Regions from separate parts of the Homo sapiens genome. Here regions 1, 3, 4, 5 and 6 are each linked to region 2. The links are contacts of gene promoters, found by promoter capture Hi-C in blood cells and fetal thymus (Javierre and others, 2016). All regions are on one chromosome and are shown on one strand. The core of a region is centred on a gene start or on the middle of the fragment in contact, and the rest is flanking DNA. Distances in the headings are between cores, read along the strand shown. Region 1 holds the start of R3HDM1 (R3H domain containing 1). Region 2 holds the start of PTPN18 (protein tyrosine phosphatase non-receptor type 18). Region 3 overlaps CLASP1 (cytoplasmic linker associated protein 1). Region 4 overlaps CLASP1 (cytoplasmic linker associated protein 1). Region 5 holds the start of UBXN4 (UBX domain protein 4). Region 6 holds the start of SPOPL (speckle type BTB/POZ protein like).

What was found. The method cuts DNA at HindIII sites, captures the fragments that hold promoters and counts their contacts. A CHiCAGO score of 5 or more calls a contact.
Region 1: the fragment with the promoter of R3HDM1 here is called in contact with the fragment with the promoter of PTPN18 in region 2 in 2 of 17 cell types (neutrophils and activated CD4 T cells); the score reaches 6.1 in neutrophils.
Region 3: a contact is called between a fragment that was not itself captured here and the fragment with the promoter of PTPN18 in region 2, in 1 of 17 cell types (total B cells). The highest score is 5.7, in total B cells.
Region 4: a contact is called between a fragment that was not itself captured here and the fragment with the promoter of PTPN18 in region 2, in 1 of 17 cell types (neutrophils). The highest score is 6.6, in neutrophils.
Region 5: the fragment with the promoter of UBXN4 here is called in contact with the fragment with the promoter of PTPN18 in region 2 in 1 of 17 cell types (neutrophils); the score reaches 8.8 in neutrophils.
Region 6: a contact is called between the fragment with the promoter of SPOPL here and the fragment with the promoter of PTPN18 in region 2, in 2 of 17 cell types (neutrophils and monocytes). The highest score is 10.0, in neutrophils.

What each region holds. Positions count from the first base shown.
Region 1 is chr2:135,529,956-135,533,538 of GRCh38, forward strand. It overlaps R3HDM1 (R3H domain containing 1), which reads left to right and starts at 1,529. Exons shown (of 27, transcript NM_001378107.1): 1 at 1,529-1,678. It overlaps ZRANB3 (zinc finger RANBP2-type containing 3), which reads right to left and starts at 1,263. Exons shown (of 21, transcript NM_032143.4): 1 at 1,172-1,263. RefSeq lists enhancers at 576-655, 1,006-1,275, 1,244-1,538 and a silencer at 1,506-1,695. The HindIII fragment of the contact is 3,394 bases long and covers 1,417-3,583 here.
Region 2 is chr2:130,354,442-130,358,039 of GRCh38, forward strand. It overlaps PTPN18 (protein tyrosine phosphatase non-receptor type 18), which reads left to right and starts at 1,615. Exons shown (of 15, transcript NM_014369.4): 1 at 1,615-1,759. The coding sequence starts at 1,667. RefSeq lists silencers at 1,195-1,864, 2,005-2,054. The HindIII fragment of the contact is 15,291 bases long and covers 1-3,598 here.
Region 3 is chr2:121,533,136-121,536,557 of GRCh38, forward strand. The region is part of intron 2 of CLASP1 (cytoplasmic linker associated protein 1); the gene reads right to left. It overlaps CLASP1-AS1 (CLASP1 antisense RNA 1), which reads left to right. Exons shown (of 2, transcript XR_001739683.2): 2 at 1-531. Among named protein-coding and RNA genes, the nearest start is that of RNU4ATAC, 4.0 kb to the left of the region's middle. The HindIII fragment of the contact is 4,052 bases long and covers 1-3,422 here.
Region 4 is chr2:121,628,628-121,632,133 of GRCh38, forward strand. The region is part of intron 1 of CLASP1 (cytoplasmic linker associated protein 1); the gene reads right to left. Among named protein-coding and RNA genes, the nearest start is that of CLASP1, 19 kb to the right of the region's middle. The HindIII fragment of the contact is 7,742 bases long and covers 1-3,506 here.
Region 5 is chr2:135,739,929-135,743,529 of GRCh38, forward strand. It overlaps UBXN4 (UBX domain protein 4), which reads left to right and starts at 1,927. Exons shown (of 13, transcript NM_014607.4): 1 at 1,927-2,083. The coding sequence starts at 2,002. It overlaps LOC107985946 (a long non-coding RNA gene), which reads right to left and starts at 2,716. Exons shown (of 1, transcript NR_163478.1): 1 at 901-2,716. RefSeq lists enhancers at 1,545-1,674, 2,005-2,064, 2,393-3,168 and a silencer at 2,465-2,514. The HindIII fragment of the contact is 10,462 bases long and covers 1-3,601 here.
Region 6 is chr2:138,499,928-138,503,260 of GRCh38, forward strand. SPOPL (speckle type BTB/POZ protein like) reads left to right here and starts at 1,843. Exons shown (of 11, transcript NM_001001664.3): 1 at 1,843-2,192. SPOPL-DT (SPOPL divergent transcript) reads right to left here and starts at 1,768. Exons shown (of 2, transcript NR_187149.1): 1 at 1,392-1,768; 2 at 1-953. RefSeq lists silencers at 1,739-2,278, 2,479-2,528. The HindIII fragment of the contact is 5,215 bases long and covers 1-3,333 here.

The DNA.
Region 1 (3,583 bases), core at 279-2,778, 5.2 Mb after region 2:
GGTGGCTCACGCCTGTAATCCCAGCACTTTGGGAGGCCAAGGTGGGCGGATCACGAGGTCAGGAGATCGAGACCATCCTGGCCAACATGGTGAAACCCCGTCTCTACTAAAAATACAAAAAATTAGCTGGGCTGAGTGGCGCGCGCCTGTAATCCCAGCTACTCCGGAGGCTGAGACAGGAGAATGGCGTGAATCAGTGAGCCAAGATCCCACCACTGCACTCCAGCCTGGGGACAGAGCAAGACTCCGTCTCAAAAAAAAAAAAAAAAAGTGTGTCTGTAAATGTAGTTCAGAACTTCGGAGCCCTGTCTTTACAGTTCAAACTGACCACGCGAAGACTAAAGGCAGTAGAGGTACTTTCTACAAATTTAGCCGTGCAATCTAATAGCGAGCAGGCCGAGACGCCCGCGATTGAAGGCCGGGGTGGAGAAAGTAATAAGGGCCCTGGAAATTACCCCCATCCCATGTCACCCACTCTTTCTTAAAATGCCATTAAATTCCGTTCAACTTTTTATCTCCCATGCAAGAAACTAGCGACTTGCCAGCCACGCCACTTCCAGCCAGTCACACCTGGCGTATTCGCCGCAGAATCTCCAACTCCCGCCACAGGTTTGGGACGTGTCCGCCCCTAAGCGGAAGTGACGTTCAACGGGACAACGTGAAAGTAGATGAGTTTAAATACGTACTAATAATTTAAAACCCCTATGGTATTTTGAGGAAACTCTTCCGGCTACCCTTCTTCCATCACTTCTCTCCCGTTAGGGTTGCGAAAAGGGCTCTGTACAGCCTCGCGACAACTCGTTCTCCGCCCTAATTTCAAGTCATTCAAAACTCTGTCCCTTTTCATTGGCTGAAGCGGCGGCATGGGTACCTCTCAGGAACTACAATTCCAGCCAAGCACCGCGACAAGTGAACGGAGGAGAAGTTATGAGTAGGGGAAAAGCATGTTGGGAATCGTAGTCCGCTCCAGGCCGAAAAGAGCAATCACCCCGCCCTCCGCCACTGAAGCTGGAGAAACCAGGTGTTCGTTTCAGAACCCGTTAGCGCTAAGGGGAGGAGCCAACCCCTTAAGCAGCATGCCTCACTTCGCCCCACATGGAGGATAATTTTCCTTTACCCCTAAAAAGCACTATAAATACCCACTGAGGAGATCTGGTTGTCTTTTAAATACCTCGAGTCAGTAAAAACTCACGAAACTCCGCACCTCAGGCTCCAACTCGTGGGAAAAGGTAGCTCTTTTACAAGTGGGCAAAATGGCTGTCCTCCTAGTTTTACCATTGGTTGGCTTTTGCGTCCTTCAAGGGCGGTTACTTACCACGGATTGGTTCTTTTTCTCTTGAGGTTGGAGGAAGATTTGGCACGGCTCTCCGCGGCCTGGGAGGAGGTAAAGGGGTGGAGAGAAGACAGTTTTTTTCAAGCTTGATTGGGCAAAACTCATGTCACTCCGGGGACGTACAACCTATGAATAGTCGGCTGCCGCTCAAAGAGAACGAAGAGGCGGGGCTAGTGCGTGGTGGGAAGGGGCGGGATTCTGCCAGCCGCGGCTGCCGCTGGAGCCGGTGTCCGGGCTGGTGATGGGGTTAATTCCCTTTCGTAAGACTCTTACTTGCACCCACCCAGCCCCGCCGTCGCCCCGCCGCGCCGCGCTCCAACCGCCTCCTCCTCCTCAGTAACGCGGGTAAGAGATGCCCTTCCCTCCCCCGTCCAGCTCCCCGGGAATAACGCGCCTTGCTCCCCTCCCCCGCCCGCCAACCGGTAGCGCTAACGGAGAAGGAGGCAGGCAGGGGAGAGATGTGGTGTGTGGAAAGGTGGCCTTCCCCGCCGGGTCGTCGGCGCTTCAGCCAGGGCCTTCTGACGTCCCGCTGCTGCCAGCCCGCCGTTAGGTCGGGTTCCGAGTGAGCCAGGCTCGCCTGGCCCGCGGCTGCGGCTCCGGCTGCAGCTGCAGCCACTGCCTTGTGCCCACCGCCCCCACCCGGGGGCCATGTGAAAAGCAAACCCCTCGAGGCCTAGCGGAGGAGGCAGGGGAAAGGTTTCCGAGTCCCTGCCATGGCTGCTGCTGCTGCCTCCGCGGCTGCTCTTGCAGCCCCAGGGACTCGGGAGCCAGCCACAGCAGGCCTGCCAAGAGCGTGGTACTGCTCTCTCGTGTGGCTGGCGCCGGTGCCCCGGGCTCCCCCGGCCGCCCCACGGCCGCATCCCCTGGCCTTGCACCAAGAGAATTTTCAGCTTCGACCGGTTGGTAAAATGTAGGTACATTTTCCCTGTGGTACCAGAAAAAGCACAATGGGAATATTAAAAAGAAAGTTGAATGACTGTCAGTGCCACGGTCCCCCGGGATCAGATTTACACACGTTTTGATTCCTGAGCCTTAGGCTGCCAACAAATCTTTGTGGGCTTTGAAGTTTTTTGGTGTTTTGTTTTCTTTTGTTGCTGTGACTAGGTGCAAAGGGTGACTCTGTTGAGCTTGTTTTTATAAAGAAACTTAAATTATTGGGACTATCATGCTCCGTGTGTAATTGTCCTGGGATAGTTAAGTAAAAGGTGAAGAAGAGGTGCTTTCCAAATTAGGATTAGTGAACAGCAAATGGTTTTTCTAATAAAATTTTCTAAATATATATATATATATCTTCATGGTTATAGTTTACCTAATTGTAACTGTAAGAAACCTTTTTTAGCTTAAATATCATTGATGACAAAAACTTTTAAATGAAAAGATGATTAAAGTCAAACTGAAAGTCTACCCATTTATAATATGTGAAACAAGATCTTCTAAGTAATAGGATACCAGTCTGACAGGAATAATTGGACACGTCTCAATTTCTAAAAATTTGGCATATTTGGCTATTTTTAGGGCATTCTGTTATGATTTCTTCATCACATTTTGATGGAGTACGCTCGTCTTTTCAAATACCACTCTGCTTTTATGCCTGGAAGAATATGTCTTTAAATCATGGATTCTATAGTCTGTAGTAGACATAACTGTGATCAGAGATAAAATTCTAGGCCCATTTCTGAGGTTTACTTGTTAGCAGAATAAACTTGGGTTCTGAGGAAACATCTGAGTTTTGATCATTTCTTCAGGGTTTGAGAAGACTATGGTGGCTTAATGATCTTCTGTATTCCATAACTAGTACACCTAGTTACAGAATTGACATAGATACATTCAGGTCCTGGAGGAAATTTGTGGTATCTATTAAAAAAATGAAAATTGCCAGTCATGTAGTAGTCACCTGTAGTCCCTGCTACTCAGGAGTGTGAGGTGAGAGGATCACTTGAGCCCAGGAGTTCAAGGCCAGCCTAGGCAATATAGCAGAACATGGTCTCAAAAAAATAAAGAAATAAATACACAGCCTTGGAAGGCAAGTCCCCTGAGATCCCCACAGAGTTCCTGTAACATATATTGCCAGCTGCCAGCATAGTATTTTCCAGAACTTAAGAGTTAATTGATAAATTATACAATCGATACTTTCAGATCTTGGGTGATTTATATAGAGAAAGAGCTGTTGAAAATTTAGGAGTCTTCTACATTTTCTTCCTGGCTGTTGGATCCCTCCATGAACCTCAGTTCGGTTTCCTCATCTGTAAA
Region 2 (3,598 bases), core at 365-2,864:
CTTCGGACCCTTCAATTACTAACACTCCAAATCCCAATGGCCCCACAATTACTTTCACTTCTTGTCCCAAGTATCCACTGGCCTCCCAATGACTGTCATTAATATCTACTGACACCCCCCCCCCCATGAACATCCAAGGGACCCCGACTGGCTTCCAATGAATTCCCTATCACCACCATCCTAAACAATTACCTCCCTGAGAATGCTCAAAGATGAAACTGATAAATGATGAACATGAATCTCACAGTGACCCCTGCGGACCCCACGATAAATCAAACAGCCCTAGCTGCTGATCCCCACAGAGCCACTTTGATCGCTCCATCACTTCAGCCAAGGTCAGCAAACGACAGCCTGTAGGCCACACACACACACTAGAATAATTCATGACACATGAACATTACATGAAATTCTGATTTCTTTGTCCATAAATGGTTTCTTTGGGACACAGCCACACTATATTGTCTGCTTTCATGCTGCCACAGCTGAGTTAAGCAGCTGGGGCAGCGATAGCAAAGCCAAAACCACTTCCTACCGGGACCTTTAAGAAAGTGTGCCCTTAAATACTCTGATAGCCCCTAGTGAATTAAATTGACCACCTGACATCATGCCCCTGTTGACCCTTCAGAGACTCAGGCACACATCCAGGCCCCAATGCTACCTTTCAACCCCTCAACGACCTCAAACTGGTGTCCACTGACGCCCCTTCCAGTGACACCCCTCTTAATTCTTCCGACCTCGGCGAGAAGGGGGCTAACCTAGGCCTGTCCTTGAAGAGACCCAGGTGCCAGTCCATTCTCTCCAGCCTCCCCTCGGTGATCCCGGAAGCTGGAACGGCGGCTCTCCTCTGACCTCTGCACACTTTCTGAAGATGGGAGTGTCAGGGCAGGCAAAAAAGAGAAGCTCTTCGTTCCCCAGAACCCACTTCCAGTGCCTCAGTTCTGTTTCCCAGCAGGCTTGTGCAGGTCGAGATGCTCACACAGGACTGACCCTGGTGCCCCAGCGCATCCGGGAAAAAGGAACCACAAATTCCTCGGGAAATACACAGAGAAGATCCCGCTGCCACTTGGCCTTTCCCACGGCGTGGCTGCCCCTCCCCGGCCTCCCTTGGGCCCGGCTGGAGCGCACAGCGCGGGACGCCCCCGACCCGGGGTCCTCTGGCACGAGGGGCAGCCTGATCTCGGCGACCGTCTCCACCCAAGGCTGCTGCCCGCCCCAGCTCGGACTCCGCGCGGCCTGGCTCCCAGGGGACGGGCGGGAGGGCCCGGCGAGACCGCTCGGCCGTCCACCCAGAGCCGGCACCCGGAGGTCGGCCCCTGGGCGCGGATCCCGATCTGAGGGCGGGTCCCAAGCGGCAGGGAGCGAACCTGGGACCGTGCCACCCCCCCACCAGTGGGCGCGGCAGCCGAAAAAAAGGGGAAGCGCCGGCGCTGGACTCTGCTCAGGGCAGCCCGCGAGGACCTAGGGCTCCGGCCACAGCGGCCCGAGCGCCCGGGGTGGGGCTACGCGGGCTCAGAACACGGTGGCTGGGGCGCCCTGCCCGCCGCTGCGCGCTTCCATTGGCTGCCGAGGCAAGGGCGGGGACTCAGTCACCGGCCTCCGCCTCCCGCGGCGTCCACACTCGCCGCGCGCGCGGCGGCCGGGCTGGACCTTGCTGGCCCGCGGCGCCATGAGCCGCAGCCTGGACTCGGCGCGGAGCTTCCTGGAGCGGCTGGAAGCGCGGGGCGGCCGGGAGGGGGCAGTCCTCGCCGGCGAGTTCAGCGTGAGTGGCACACGGGGTCCGCGAGCGGCGCGCCCCGGCCCTGGCCCTGCGTACGCCTGTCCTCCGCGCACGGCGGGCTCTGCCTTTCTGTCTCGGTGTCCCCGGTGTCTCCCCGCCTCGGGGGGTCTCTCCGTGTTTCTCTCCCCAGCACTTCTCTGTCGCTCTTGCTGTCTCCGTCTTCACTCTCTGCCCCCCGGCCCCGGAGCGCGACGTCCACGGCCAGGCCGGGACGGACCGTGCACACCCTCGTTCCCGGTGTCCTCGTCGCGCTCCCGGAACAACCTGGCTGCGGGCGGGACAGGTGGGGCGGGCGCCGCAGGGGAGGGCGGGCGGCCCTGCTGCGCTGGACAGCCCCGGCCCCGCCGCTTCTGGCGACCTGACTGTCCCCTGTGACCACAGGAAGGAAGGGGCTGCAGCAGGGCGAAGAGGAACACGGAGGCTGTGGCGTGGTGAGGGTGTGAACGCCGGGCTCGAATCCGCGTCCGGGCCCGAATCCGCTTCCCGTCCCGAATCCGCGTCCCGGCCATCCGCGTGTGGTCCAGGCGGTCTACCTGGCCCCTCTGACCTCGGCTTCTCCCTTGGTGAAATGGGGACATGAATGACCAAACTGGTCTAAGGATTAAATGATGTGGGTGAAAAGCACTTAGTACATATTGGGCGCACACTTCGTAGGGGCGTTCGTCACTGCCTATAAAGATTCTAAACGTGGGCCAGGTGCGGTGGCTCACACCTGTAATCCCAGCACTTTGGGAGGCCGAGGTGGGAGGATCGCTTGAGCTCAGGAGTTCGAGACCAGCCTGGGCAACACAGCGAAACCCCGTCTCTACTAAAAATACAAAAATCAACTGGGCATGGGCGCATGCCTGTAATCCCAGCTACTAGGGAGCAGAGACAGGGGACTCGCTTGAACCTGGGAGGCAGAGGTTGCAGTGAGCTGAGATGGTTCCACTGCACAGCTGAGATGGTGCCACTGCACTCCAGCCTGGGCCACAGAGTGAGATCCCATCTCAAACAAAACAAAACCAAACAAAAAATCTAAACGTTACAATACAGGTAGTGCAAGCCCAGCATTAGGAAGGCTCACGCAGAATGCTAGGCACTGTACATTACAGTTGATGACGTGTTTAAAGTGTAATCGCTTATGTACCAGACATAGAAACATACCATACAAACGCATAAACTGATATATGGTGACATGTATCAAGTTTAGAAATATGACAAATATATAAAAGTATTATAAATGACCGTTTATACAATAAACATTGCATAACTGCATAAAACAATACAACAAATGAATATAACAAAGATTATAATTTATAAAATGACCAAAGTTATTTGATAAATTCATAAGTAGATATAAAATATGTAACAGATGGCCGGGCACGGTGGCTCACGCCTATAATCCCAGCACTTTGGGAGGCCGAGGCGGGCGGATCACGAGGTCAGGAGATCCACACCATCCTGGCTAACACGGTGAAACCCCGTCTCTACTAAACACACAAAAAATTAGCTGGGCGTGGTGGCGGGCGCCTGTAGTCCCAGCTACTCGGGTGGCTGAGGCAGGAGAATGGCGTGAACCCGGGAGGCGGAGCTTGCAGTGAGCCGAGATCGCGCCACTGCAGTCCAGCCTGGGCAACAGAGCGAGACTCCATCTCAAAAAAAAAAAAAAAAAAAGTAACAGATAATTATAAACCTAAGTAATTTACACACATGTAGAAACATTGTATATAAGAAACTAAGAAATGCATAATAAATGTAAAATATATAATTATACAATATAAGAATGTGTGTAACAAATGTAAACATAATACCCATGTGATATATGACATCATGCGACTG
Region 3 (3,422 bases), core at 586-3,085, 8.8 Mb before region 2:
CAGTCAAGTTTCAATGCGTTGCCTAGAGGAACTGGGGAGCCTGGAAACTCCCGAAGAAGACTGAGTGGGTAGATGCACCTGAGCCCCAGAGAAATAGGACAGGAGAGGTCCAGGGTGTCAGCCAGGAGGACAGAAGGCAGTTCCAGGCACTTTCACAGCTCAGGCCCTTCTCCTGGGTTTCCATTTCCCTACTGAAGAAAGGGATACATGAAAAAGTCCTTGCCCAGAAGACCACTCTGATAATTAACTATAAAAACCTCTTTGTGCCTAACCTCCTCATCTGTAAAACATGGACAATAATAACAGCTGCCTCGTGGGTTGTTGTGAGGGTTAAATAAAGTGTGTATGTAAACTGTGCCTGGCACGTGGTAAGGGTACTTTTTTTTTCCCCCTATTTCTGCTTTCTTCAGCCCTTAGGTTTATAAAACCAACTTCTTCTGCATGGCTCACTGGAATACACAATTCTGTTTTATGGAATGAGGTGTTACCTGATTCTAAAGTCACGAATAAAAGTCAATCAAAATCTTTAAATTTGTTGTAATTTTTTTCTTCCAACACCATTAACTCTGCGTGACCCTTGACTCTGACATTTTACTTAATTATCTACGTTTGTGCTTGTTTCCCCAGCTACACTCCTTGAATGTAAGGAATACTATCATCTTGCATTTCCTCAGAATTCCCATAATAAGTAGCACAATGCTGGGTACACGGTAGGTGATCAATAAACCCTACTGTATTGATGTGAATGAGACTGGAATAGATGAGTTCTCAAGGTCCAACACATCTTCTTTATCCTACAAACCTTTAAAAGACTCTTTTGTAAAAGAGAGAAGAGGGCTGACCAGGTCACTGGGACCAACACTCCTGCCGAGCACAACTAAAAAATGCTGGACATAAAAGGACACCTGCAGCATCAGAGAACTAAGAAGGCACAGAAGAACTTCCAGGTCAAGAAACAGAGACAACCAAAATTTACAGATATAAGCCTGCAACAACTGGTTCACTTTGCCCTGGGGCCATTTATACACTGGGAAAGGGCACAGAGAATCACTTTTAATAACCTCTTGGGTCATCTAGGAGGGCAAAGGTTAGATTCCAAAGCCCTCCAAAGTTGGTGACCTAGTTAACCCCCTACCACATGTGCTGGAAACCCAAATGGCTAGACTTTAGGAGGAGAGTGAGTTGGAAATAAAACAGCCTTCACAGGGACTGCAGCCCAGTTTCCAAGCATCTGGGTGGCCCAGAAAAATCCTAATCCCTGACATCAGATTAAAGTGAGGTTAGACTGTTTGTGCCCAAAAGCCCTGAGCAGATAAAAACACAAGTCATTTCTGGATAAAGAAAACATCATCCTAATAATCTAGTCCTCGGATTATTCCTGTAAAAATTTTCTTTTGTTGTTGTTGTTGTTTGTTTTTTTGAGACAGAGTCTCGCTCTGTTGCCCAGGCTGGAGTGCAATGGCACGATCTCTGCTCACTGCAACCTCCGCCTCCCGGGTTCAAGAGATTCTCGTGCTTCAGCCTCCCAAGTAGCTGGGACGTGTTATCAGCCCAGCTAATTTTTGTATTTTTAGTAGAGACGGGGTTTTATCATGTTGGACAGACTGTTCTTGAACTCCTGACCTCAAGCAATCTGCCTGCCTCAGCTCCCAAAGTGCTGGGATTACTGACGTTGAGCCATTGTGCCTGGCCTATTCCTGTAACAATTTTTCAAAGAGAACATCTGAAACACAACCAAAGATAACCAGTCACACAGGACAAAGTGAAAACTAGCAGAAACAAAGACCAACCTGGACTCTGGGTCCCTGGATAGGAGAATAATTGCAAACGGACTTTAAAATAACAAGTCAGGCCGAGTGTGGTGTCTCACGCCTGTAATCCCAGCACTTTGGGAGGCCAAGGCAGGCAGAGGCAGGCGGATTGCCTTAGCTTAGGAGTTCAAGACTAGCCTGGGCAACGTGGCGAAATGCCACCTCTACGAAAAAATACAAAACTTAGCTGGGCGTGGTGGCATGCACCTGTGGTCCCAGCTGCTCTGCTCGGGAGGCTGAGGTGGGAGGATCACTTGAGCCTGGGAGGCGGAAGTTGCAGCGAGTGGAGATCGTGCCACTGCACTCCAGCCTGGGTGACAGAGAGACACCTTGTCTCAATAAATAAATTAATTAAATTAAATAACCAGTCTTATTATGTCTAAGAAGAAAAAACACATGATTAAAGTTTTGGGTAGAGAAATGACAACTTTTAAAGTTACATAGGTTAAACAAATAATACAAGAGAAAATTAAATACTCAATGCATGGGCTCTTTTTCCTAAGTGCACTGTAAATACATGAAGAGAACTAAACAGGAAACTAAGTCTGCAGAAAAAATCCAGAATAAAGTAAAGAGAAGCAAAAAGATGGAATATTCAAAAGAATAGGCAAGAGAGAATAGAGAGAAAACATCAAGTTTAAATGGAATTTAAAAAGAAGAAATGAGAGACAATAGGTAAAAAGTAACGGCTGACATTCATTAGAATTTTTTTTTTTTTTGGAGATAGGATCATGCTCTGTCACCCAGGCTGGAGTGTAGTTGCGTGATTTCGGCTCACTGCAACCTCCATCTCCCAGCTTCAAGTGATCCTCCCGCCTCAGCAACCTGCCCCCTCCCCAGTAGCTGGGACTACAGGCGCGTGCCAACACACCACCCAGCTAATTTTTTGAGCTTTTGTAGAGGAGAGGTTTTGCCATGTTGCCCAGGCTGGTCTTGAACTTCTGGACTCAAGCGATCCGACTGTGTTGGCCTCCCAGAGTGCTGGGATTACAGGCATGAGCCACTGCACCCAGCCCTATTTTATTAAAAAATAAAAAATAAATACTGTTGGTAAAGATGTAGAGAAACTGGAACTCTTGTATACTGCTGGTGAAGTGTAAAATGGTAGAGTTGTTGTGGAAAATGGTTATAGCAGTTCCTCAAAAAAGATTAGGGCTGGGCACAGTGGCTCACGCCTGTAATCCCAGCACTTTGGGAGGCCGAGGTGGGCAGATCACGAAGTCAGGAGATCGAGACCATCCTGGCTAACACAGTGAAACCCCGTCTCTAGTAAAAATACAAAAAATTAGCCGGGCGTTGTGACGGGCACCTGTAGTCCCAGCTACTCGGGAGGCTGAGGCAGGAGAATCGCATGAACCTGGGAGGCGGAGCTTGCAGTGAGCCGAGATTGTGCCACTGCACTCCAGCCTGGGCGACAGAGCAAGACTGTCTGAAAAAAAAAAAAAAAAAAAAAAAAGATTAAAAATAATATTACCATATGATTCCAGCAATTCCATTTCTGGGCATATACCCAAAAGAAGTAAAAGCAGAGTTTCCAAAGACAGTTGTAAACCCATATTCACAGCATCATTATCTACAGGAGTAAAAAGGTGGAAACAACTGAAGTGTTGA
Region 4 (3,506 bases), core at 905-3,404, 8.7 Mb before region 2:
CACCCCACTGCACTCCAGCCTGGGTGACAGAACAAGACTCTGTCTCAAAAAAAAAAAAAAAAGAATGTAATTGAATATAATCAAATAAACACTTTAATGCACTGCTGATGAGAATAAAAAGTAGTAATACATAGGACAATTTGGCAACATCTCTTCACCCAACCAGTTCAAAATCTAAGAATGCATCTAAGGAAAAATTTATCAAGTATGCTAAAATGGGGTGGGCACCATGGCTCCTGACAGAGCGAGACTCCATCTCAAAAAAAAAAAAAAAAGTATACCAAACTGAACATATCAAGTTGTTCACTGCAGCTGGTCATCCTTTTTTTTTAATTCTTTTTTCTCTTTCTTTGTTTTGGTCATCCTTTTTTAATGAAATAATCCTAAATGTTAACGAACAGGGAAGTGGGAAATAAATTACAGTACATCCGTACAACAGCATACTATGCAGTTACCAACAATGATGATAAAAAATCTGTTCTTGCCGGGCGCGGTGTCTCAGCCTGTAATCCCAGCACTTTGGGAGGCCAAGACGGGCAGATCATGAGGTCAGGAGATCAAGACCATCCTGGCTAACACGGTGAAACCCCGTCTCTACTAAAAATACAAAAAATTAGCCTGGCATGGTGGCAGGCACCTGCAGTCCCAGCTACTTGGGAGGCTGAGGTGGGAGAATGGCATGAATCCGGGAGGCGGAGCTTGCAGTGATCTGAGATCGCACCACTGCACTCCAGCCTGGGTGATAAAGCGAGACTCCATCTCAAAAAAATATATAAAAAATAAAAAATAAATAAATAAATCTGTTCTTATTGGACTTTAAAGGTATCTGCAATCATTTTAGTGAAAAAAGCAAACTAGAAAACAATTAGAAAAGCAAACTAGGCCGGGAGCGGTGGCTCACGCCGGTAATCCCAGCACTTTGGGAGGCCGAAGCCAGTGGATCACCTGAGGTCAGGAATTTGAGACCAGCCTGGCCAACATGGTGAAACCCCATGTCTACTAAAAATACAAAAATTAGCTGGGCATGGTGGCAGGCACCTGTAATCCCACGTACTTGAGAGACTGAGGCAGGAGAATCACTTGAACCTGGGAGACAGAGGTTGCAGTGAGCCAAGATCACACCACTGCACTCTAGCCTGGGCGACAAGAGCGAAACTCCATCTCAAAAAAAATAAAAAAGCAAACTAGAAAACAAAAATGATGCCATTTTTGTTTATAAAATAAAAACTTTTTTTTATATGCATCTTGCATAGAAAACGTATGGAAGGGAACACACTAAAATGTTAATACTATGTTTTCCCTTTTTTTATTGAGATGGAGTCTTGCTCTGTCACCCAGGCTGGACTGCAGTGATGCAATCTTCGCTCACTGCAACCTTCGCCTCCCAGGTTCAAGCTATTCTCCTGCCTCAGCCTCCTGAGTAGCTGGGATTACAGGTGTGCACTACCATGCCCAGCTAACTTTACATTTTTAGTAGAGACAGGATTTCACCATGTTGGCCAGGCTGGTCTCAAACTCCTGACCTCAAGCGATCCACCCGCCTCCGCCTCCCAAACTGCTGGGATTACAGGCGTGAGCCACCACGCCCAGCCTCTATTCCTATTCTTTCTAGTTAAATCATACTCTATCCAATAAATTCCAGAAAGTTGTTTTTAAAGTTAAATCAAATTGTAATCCTGATATCACAATCATCATCCATTACTACAAGTATTGAAAACTACAGAAAGTTTGGTAGATCACCATATTGGAAAGAAACACACACACACACACACACACACACACACACACACACACACACGCAGAAGCAATTATTCAGTAAATCTTCTGTATCTAGTACCCATCTCTAGAAGGCAGTATTGGTAACATCTACAAGGAAACAAAACTTATTCCTGCCTCGTCCAGTCACAAAATTCTTGCCAAGTCAAAAGAGAAAAGCAAACAAGAAATGAGAAGAGGCCGGGCATGGTGGCTCACGCCTATAATCCCAGCACTTTGGGAGGCCAAGGTGGGTGGATTGCCTGAGGTCAGGAGTTTGAGACCAGCCTGGCCAACATGGCAAAACTCTGTCTCTACTGAAAATAAAAAAATTAGCCGGGCATGGTGGTGGATGCCTGTAATCCCAGCTACTCAAAAGGCTGAGGCAGGAGAATCGCTTGAACCCAGCAGAGGTTGCAGTGAGCCAAGATCTAGCCATTGCACTCCAGCCTGGACAACAAGAGCGAAACTACGTCTCAAAAAAAAAAAAAAAGAGGCCGGGCGCAGTGGCTCACGCCTGTAATCCCAGCACTTTGGGAGGCCGAGGTGGGTGGATCACAAGGTCAGGAGATCAAGACCATCCTGGCTAACATGGTGAAACCCCATCTCTACTAAAAATACAAAAAATTAGCCGGGTGTGGTGGCAGGCGCCCATAGTCCCAGCTACTCGGGAGACTGAGGCAGGAGAATGGCATGAACCCGGGAGGTGGAGGTTGCAGTGAGCCGAGATTGCGCCATTACGCTCCAGCCTGGGTGACAAAGCGAGACTCCAGCTCAAAAAAAAAAAAAAAAAAAAAAAAGAAATGAGAAGAAAAGTGCTCAATTTGCTTTTGATCACTGAACTATAGTCATATTTTAATTCAAAAAATGACACATGACATGTTTCTACGCCATTTTAAAATTACTTTTTTTTTTTTTTTTTTTGAAATGGAGTCTCGCTCTGTCACCATGCTGGAGTGCACTGGTACGATCTTGGCTCACTGCAACTTCCGCCTCCTAGATTCAAGCAATTCTCCTGCCTCAGCCTCCCGAATAGCTGGGACTACAGGCACACACCACCAGGCCCAGCTAATTTTTGTATTTTTAGTAAAGACGAGGTTTCACCATGTTGACCAGGATGGTCTCGATCTCTTGACCTCGTGATCTGCCCACCTCGACCTCCCAAAGTGCTGGGATTACAGGCGTAAGCCACCAAGCCCGGCCTGAAATTACATTTTTTAAACATATTTTTAAAATACATATTGCAGGCCAGGCACAGTGGCTCACACCTGTAATCCCAGCACTTTGGGAGGCCAAGGTGGGAGGATCGCTTGAGCTCATGAGTTTGAGAACAGCCTGGGCAACATAGTGAGACCCCATCTCTACAAAAAATACAAAAATCGGGCCAGGCGCAGTGGGTCACACCTGTAATCCCAGCACTTTGAGAGGCTGAGGTGGGTGGGTCACCTGAGGTCAACAGTTCGAGACCAGCCTGGTCAACATGGTGAAACCCCGTCTCTAGTAAAAATGCAAAAATTAGCTGGGCGTGGTGGCGTGCCCATGTAATCCCAGCTACTCGGGAGGCTGAGGTGGGAGAACTGCTTGAACCCAGGAGGCGGAGGCTGTAGTGAGCCGAGATCACGCCACTGCACTCCAGCCCAGGCAACAGAGCAAGACCCCATCTCAAAACAAATAAAATAAAATAAAATAAATAAATAAAATAAATACAAAAATCAGCCAGGCATGGTAGTATGCACCTGTAGTCCCAGCTA
Region 5 (3,601 bases), core at 677-3,176, 5.4 Mb after region 2:
CCCAAAGTGCTGGGATTACAGGCATGAGCCATTGTGCCTGGCCAACTCTTCTGTTTAAAATTTTTCAATGGCTCCCTGTAATCCTTAGAAAAATGTCTTAAAATTTTTAACATGATTTTCAAGACTCTGTATCATCTGATCCTTGCCTAGCTTTCCAGCCTCACTTGTACCACACTCCTCTTTCTATGTTATAGCCACACTGGGCATTTTTTAGTTCTGCAAGTGCACTGTGTTTGCTTGCTTCAGAGCCTCATGTGGAATAGCCTTCTCCTTCACCTACCTAGAGTTCCCCGACACGTCATTTCCTCATGAAGGCCCTTTCTGACTCCACTAGCCCATGTTCGGTCCCATCCTCATACACTTCTGTAGCACTCTGAATTACCCTTCTGTGACATTTATCATCACTCATAATTACTTATTCAATGTCTGTCTTCCTGACTAGACTGTACAGTCACAAAGACAGGGCCTTCTTCTGACTGCCTCACCTCCTTATCAGTGCCAGGCACAATGCCTAGCTCATAAAAGATGAGTGATAAACACTTGACAAATGAATATAAAACTATGAAGGATTCTTATTTAATTCTAAAATTAGAGATAATTAAAGACATAGCTCTATTGGAATAATTTCTAGATTGATCAAATTTCCAGAAGTCCATTAAAGTTGATGTTAAAGGTCAATTCTAATTTTTCTGTAGGATTGTTGTCCTATAGAAGCAACTGTCCCTAATCAGCATTATGTCTCAGTTTATAATAACACTATATACGAGAGGCCTGATTGGGAAAAAAAGTACAAAAATCGGAGTGCAAATAATTAGCTATTTTTAGGGAAAATATCTGTAGGAAAGGTGGTATATTCAGATGTATCACTTCCTTTATCTTGCAAAGATTGTCAGATAGATGTACTGCTGGAGGATAAATTTAATTGATGTAGAATTTAACATAATAGTATATGCAACTTTAAATAAACCATGCAAGCCTTTAGCTAATAGTTATTACAGACCATGTGATTTCATGAAAGTATTAAATATGGATCAGTTTTCATTTAATGGCAGCCAATCACAAAGCGCCACATCTTGATTATAGGACATTCTCCCAGAAAATTGGAAAATAAATCACTATCTAGTCTCTTTTGTATTACCATGGAAAGTAGCTGGAAAAGAAATAATCTATTCTCTGCTTTGTGTTACTTTAAAAAGTAGCTGTGGCAATAGCCTAACGCGTTTTGAAGTTTTGAAATGATCTCTATCCAGTGTCTAGGAAATTGCTGAAGGCCTGCGTTCTACCAATTCCTCCGCTTAGGCACATGGACTACAGGTTATTAAAGAAGGTGACTTGCGGTTTTTATCCCGTTTTTCTGCAAGGTTGGGCTACGTTCAGAAGAAATCAAAGCCTCGGAGTTAATCCCGACAAAGCCCATTTAGTTCCATGCGAGGACTATTTCCTCCACACTGAGAGTCTCAACGAGGCCGAGAATAGCATATGCCAGTTGGAGTGACACTTATTTCTCCCTCTCCCCTTTATAGAATGTGTAGTGGCCCTCACTACTGCCCCCTTTAGCTGTGCCTCAGAACCCACAGTTACATGCTCCACAATATGGAGGCGAATAAGCCTAAGTGGACTACAATTCCCATCATGCCTCACTGCAGGCGCCGCCGACGTGTCTTAGCGGTTAGTCATCCCTCTTACCGCTTTCCTCCACTTCCTGGACTGCGCGACCGGAGGCCTAGCGGGCGCGCGCCCGCACCATCGACTCGCCAACGAGAGAAGGTCCTGGGGCACGGACACCGACGGGTTGCGACTGTGACGTGAGGTGTTCTCGCGCGCGCTAGCGCGCGTCTCCGGGTGCCGCTGACGGGCGTGCGCGCTTGTGCGGAGCCGGAGGTGGGGGCCGAACCAGCCAAGGTTGCGGGGGCCGCAGAGCCGGACGAAGACGGAGGGCGGAGCCGGCTTCGGGACTGCGGAGACTACACACCGAGCGAGCGCCTGGGCCCGAAGGGAGCGATGCTGTGGTTCCAGGGCGCCATTCCGGCCGCCATCGCGACGGCCAAAAGGAGCGGCGCGGTCTTCGTGGTGTTCGTGGCAGGTGAAGGAGGCAGGGGTTCGAGAGGCGGCCGGGACACCCCTCCGGCCTACCTTCATCCTCTTGTATACCTCAGCCGCCGGCCCGCCCTCCCCGAGACGCGGGCTCCTGTCGGCTCGCACAATTGCCACTACTACCCCGCGCCCCAGGGACGGCTGCGACTCCGCCGCCAGATCCCCCAGAGGGGCCATGCAGACCCTCAGCGCCCTGCTCCTTCAGGCCCCGGGCGCCCCCAGCCTTTCCTCAGTGTCTGCGAGGCCCGGGCTGCCGGCCCGTGGCTGTTCAGCGCCTCCCCGGTTCGTTTGAGATACAGTGGGCCTGGCCCCACCGCTGCGTCTCCCGGCAGCCGGGCCGGAGGCACCGTCTGGCCCTGGTCTCCAAAGCGCCCCGAGGCCCGCCGAAATCTCCCCGCTCGGGGCGACGGACGCGGCCAGCAGGCCCCAGCCGCCCAGCCCCGCTCGTCGCCCCGAGCCTCTCCCCTGCGCAGCCAGACCCCCGCGACCCTCTCCCTGACGTCCCTCTCTGTCACCAAGGACCCTCTTTGTGCTGCTTGAACGCCCGTTTCGTTACTGCTGTTTAGATGGAGGTAGGAACGGGCCATTAGGCAAGCAGTTGGGTTGTAATTAGTTGTGGACTGTCGGGAAGAAAGCTGTGTCATCGATAAGCAACAAAGAGAAACCACCTGATGTTCACGGTTACTGGTGTTAGTACGTTCCTGAAACGTAAACTTTTGAGCTGAATAGAGGTTTAATTTTTCTTTATGGCAGTCTTGGTAGGGGATCTAGTGTGAAATAATGTAAGTTTAAAAAAAATCCATTAGTTTCAAAGAAAATAGACGTTCAGTCCTTGGTTTCTTCCCTTTGTTGTCTTCTTAGGCTAAAATCTACACGACTTTGAGAACGTTTATTAACTCATATATTCTCTGTTGCTCTAGGCTATTTTGCTCCATATTCTCCTGTTTTATTACTGAAATCTTGTAGATTTACAGTGAACTCCCTGCCTCTACGGTTCTGCTCATACTCATTACATGGACCAAATCAATGTTTGTGGCTGTTGTTAATTTGAGGTGTATTTCTTCAACTATTTGTGTTTAATAACGGTTTATTCATAATTAACTCGTCTTTTAATAGCTCTATAACTTTATGCACTGCAGTGAAGAACGAATTACTGAAATGTGAATGTCATTTAGCATTAAATTTGGAATTTATAATTGTTTTGTTACGCCAAGTTTTTAGCTCAATGCTGTTTATTAGAAGAGCTTGAATAGTTTAGATTCTGTGATGCTGTCTGGGGGTTATATTATACTTTACATAAATTAATTCTGTAATCCCGTAAGGAAAAAAATGGATTGAAAATGAAAGGAAAAGTAAATGACACTATGCTTATTGTGTACATTAGTAGGTTTTTGACATTTTAAATTGTTTTTCTCCTAATATCTCAGTTGATCCTTGCAGTAAATAGAACAGGTTTAATTATCCCCATTTTATAGATGAGGCACTTAGGTCAGCAGTCATAAAGTGA
Region 6 (3,333 bases), core at 593-3,092, 8.1 Mb after region 2:
ATTCTACCAACTCAGCCCAAGGCAACTTTGAATTTTATGGTTACATTGCTAATTTTATCTTTATCTGAAAACCTTTGGCACAGATTTTGTCTTAAAGCACGTTTTGTCTTAAATAAGTCAACAGGATTGCTAACGTAAGGTCAGGTGCTAATCCCAGCATTTTGGGAGGCAGAAGTGGGAGGATCACTTGAGGCCAGGAGTTTGAGCCCAGCCTGGGCAATATGGTGAGACTCTGTTTCTACTAAAAATACAAAAATTAGCCGGGCTCACGCCTGTAGTCCCAGATACTTGGTGGCTGAGGCACAGAATTGCTTGAATCTGGGAGGTGACCCAGGATCGCGCCACTGCACTCCAGCCTGGCGTACAAAGCGAGATCCTGTCTCAAACAAACAAAAAGAAAAAAGAAATAAAAAAGACAGCTAATGTAGTATTAATTTGAAATGAGGGGGATCTGCCTGTCCAGTATTCAAATCCCAGTAACCTCTGGATGAATTACTTGCCATTTCTAGTTCTTGTCGCTTAATTTTAAGATGGAAATTTCTACGTTGAAGTTTTAGAGAGGTTGTTGAGAGAACAGAGACGATACAAGTCCATGCTTAGAATACTCAGTACATAGCAAAATAATAAATATTTTCCCTCTGCCCTCTCTCTTTTCTTGGAAAGCCAGGTAAGCAATGAGAAGTTGGTTTATGGCCAGGTGTGGTGGTTCACGCCTGCAAATCCCAGCACTTTGGGAGACCAAGGTGGGAGGATCCCTTGAGCTCAGGAGTTCGAGATCTGCTTGGGCCACATAGCAAGACCTCGTCTCCACAAAAAATTAAGATTACCTGGGCGTGGCACATTCCTGTAGTCCCAGCTACGGGAGGCTGAGTTGGGAGGATCACTTTAGCCTAGGAGGTCGAGGCTGCAGTGAGCTGTGATGGCACCACTGCACTCCAGCCTGGGTGACAGCCCTGTCAAAAACAAAACAAAACAAAAATTGCTGACGTATGCACAGTTAAAGCAAAAAGAGTTGGGATCCTTGAATGACGTTCATGTCTGTTCTGGCAAAGCCGGGATTGTTGGTCCCCCAAACTTCTTTAAAGAAGTTTACTCCTGGTAGCTCGATTAAGTATCTTTGTCCCATGGCCGTGGGGAATAAAAAGTTCAGTTGTCACCCCCTTTTTAAACTAAATGTCCGAAGAGACAAGGCAATCCCATCCTCTCTTCACACATTTGTGCAGGTGCAGCTTTATTTCCCACCGTGCGGTCCCAGGAGGCCGCCTGGTCTTCTGCGCTCACTTCCTAGGCATCCCTGGCCGCCCCTCGGCAGCCTCTCCTTCTGGCCTGAGACTTCCAGCTGAGCCTCATCCCCTCCACCTGAAAACTGCTCCATGGGGCACTTCATCTACCTGGAAAGTTCTCGATTTCCAACTGGAGCCTGTATACTGCTGGTTGTGTCTCAGCAGTTATTACAGCTCTGGGCTTACAACGGGAGCTTAGCAAAAGTTCCACCCTGGCTTCCTAGACTGCTACAGCTCCAAGAAAAATCCTGTGCGCACAAACGGCCGCCGCCTTTGGCGTCTCCCGCGGATTAGACCAGTTAGGAGGTCTCAGTAGGCTTTTAGGCAGGACAAGTTTTACGCCTGGCCAAATAAGGGTCAGACTAAGCAAGGCGCCTCCGTGCGCCTAGCCAGAGCGGTGCCGGCTGCGGAACCTGCCCCGCCGGGAGCCTAGTGCCATGCAGCAGCGGCGGCGGTGGCGGCTTCCCAAGCGCGGCGGCAAATCCGGGCCCGCCCGGAAGTGCCCGGCGCTGTAGGAGGGAGCAAGGGCCCAGGAGCCGCCGCCGCCGCCGCCGCGCGCACGCGCCCTCGCGGGCTGGAGCCGGGGCTGGAGTCGTAACTCGGAAGCCGGAGCCCAGACGGGCCCGCGGCGGGGGGGTGGGGGCTGCGCGGGGGCGGGAGTGGCGGAGGTGGCCGCCCCTGGCGGCGGGTTTGTTTATCCCGGGGAAGAAGTTTAGGAGCGGGAGATAGGGAAGGAGGGCGGGTCGGGGAGGAGGGATGCGGTTCGGCGGAGGCGGCCGCCACAGGGACTTGCCGCCATCACCCCTGCTGCCACCACCGCAGCCTCGGGCTCCCAGGGCGGACACGGCCACCGCCTCAGCGGGAGAGGAGTCTCCACCAGGACTGACCGCTGCCGCCCAGCACGTCCAGGTAGGCGCCCCTTCCCCTCCCCCCAGTCCCCGCGGCAGCCCCAGGCGCTTGCTCCCCTCCCCCGGCTCTCCGTAGACCGGCGGCCTCCTGCTCGCGCCTCACTGCGCCCTCTGCTCTCTGGGTCCCGGACCCCTGCTCGGGCGGCGAGCTCCGGCCTGCTCTGGGGACTACCTCCCACGCCCCCGGACCGCCCTTCCCTCGCGCGGCGGCACCACTTTCCCCGGGGTTGCCCCCAATCCCTCCTTGATTTCCCAGCCTCCACCTTCCAGGATCCCCTTTAGTTTTACCCCCGGGCCTCGCCCCTTCTTTTCCTCTGGCTTCTCTCCTCCTCTATACCTGTATACCTCCACACCTGCCCCTTTTTACCTGAGTGCTGCCCAAAGGCAGAAACTGCATGCTCTGCCACCGCGCAGCGTCCACTTTCATACCTCCTCATCCCAAATACAGACACTTGAAACTCTCGTCCCTGTTAGCCCATTTTAGGCAGAGTTCTCAGCTTCGCAGACCGCTCACTACCTCCAGTCCGGTGGTCATGCCTTTAACCTCTCTTTAACCTGCTTTCTAATACATTTTTGCTCACTTATACCAGAGTACATCAAGCTAACCGCGCGGTTCGGGGTCCAAGTCTTCAAAGAGCCCACTTGTATTCCTGCTGCTCTCCTTTTTCCTAATTCTTTTTGAGTCAATGTATTTGTATATTGATTCAACATAAAAGAAAAGGGAAGGTAGCATTTTCTCTCTCAAAGCAGTCACACAACCCAGTAGAAATAAGATTCACCATCTGCTTATCCTAACTTTCGCTTGTCTCTTTCCTGACTGAACTCTGTCATTCAGTGATTCTTTCCAGGCTTCTGATGCTTTGTCTATTTTTGAATAATCTTGGGCCTAGTTTGACCCATTGTGGTACTCACTTTCCCACTTGCAATTGAATCCACTGTTTCTTGGACTAGAAACTGACAGAGGTAAAAGGTTCATACCTTGAAAAATTACATCTCTCCTGCCACGATGAGATTGGTGGAATATTTCAAATTACCATTTCATCATTCTTGTGAGAAATGTTGCCTAGTGGTTAAGAACTCTTCTCTAGAGCTCAGACTAGTATATAGTTGCCAGGGTGTAAACCCTTGCTCTGCCATCTACC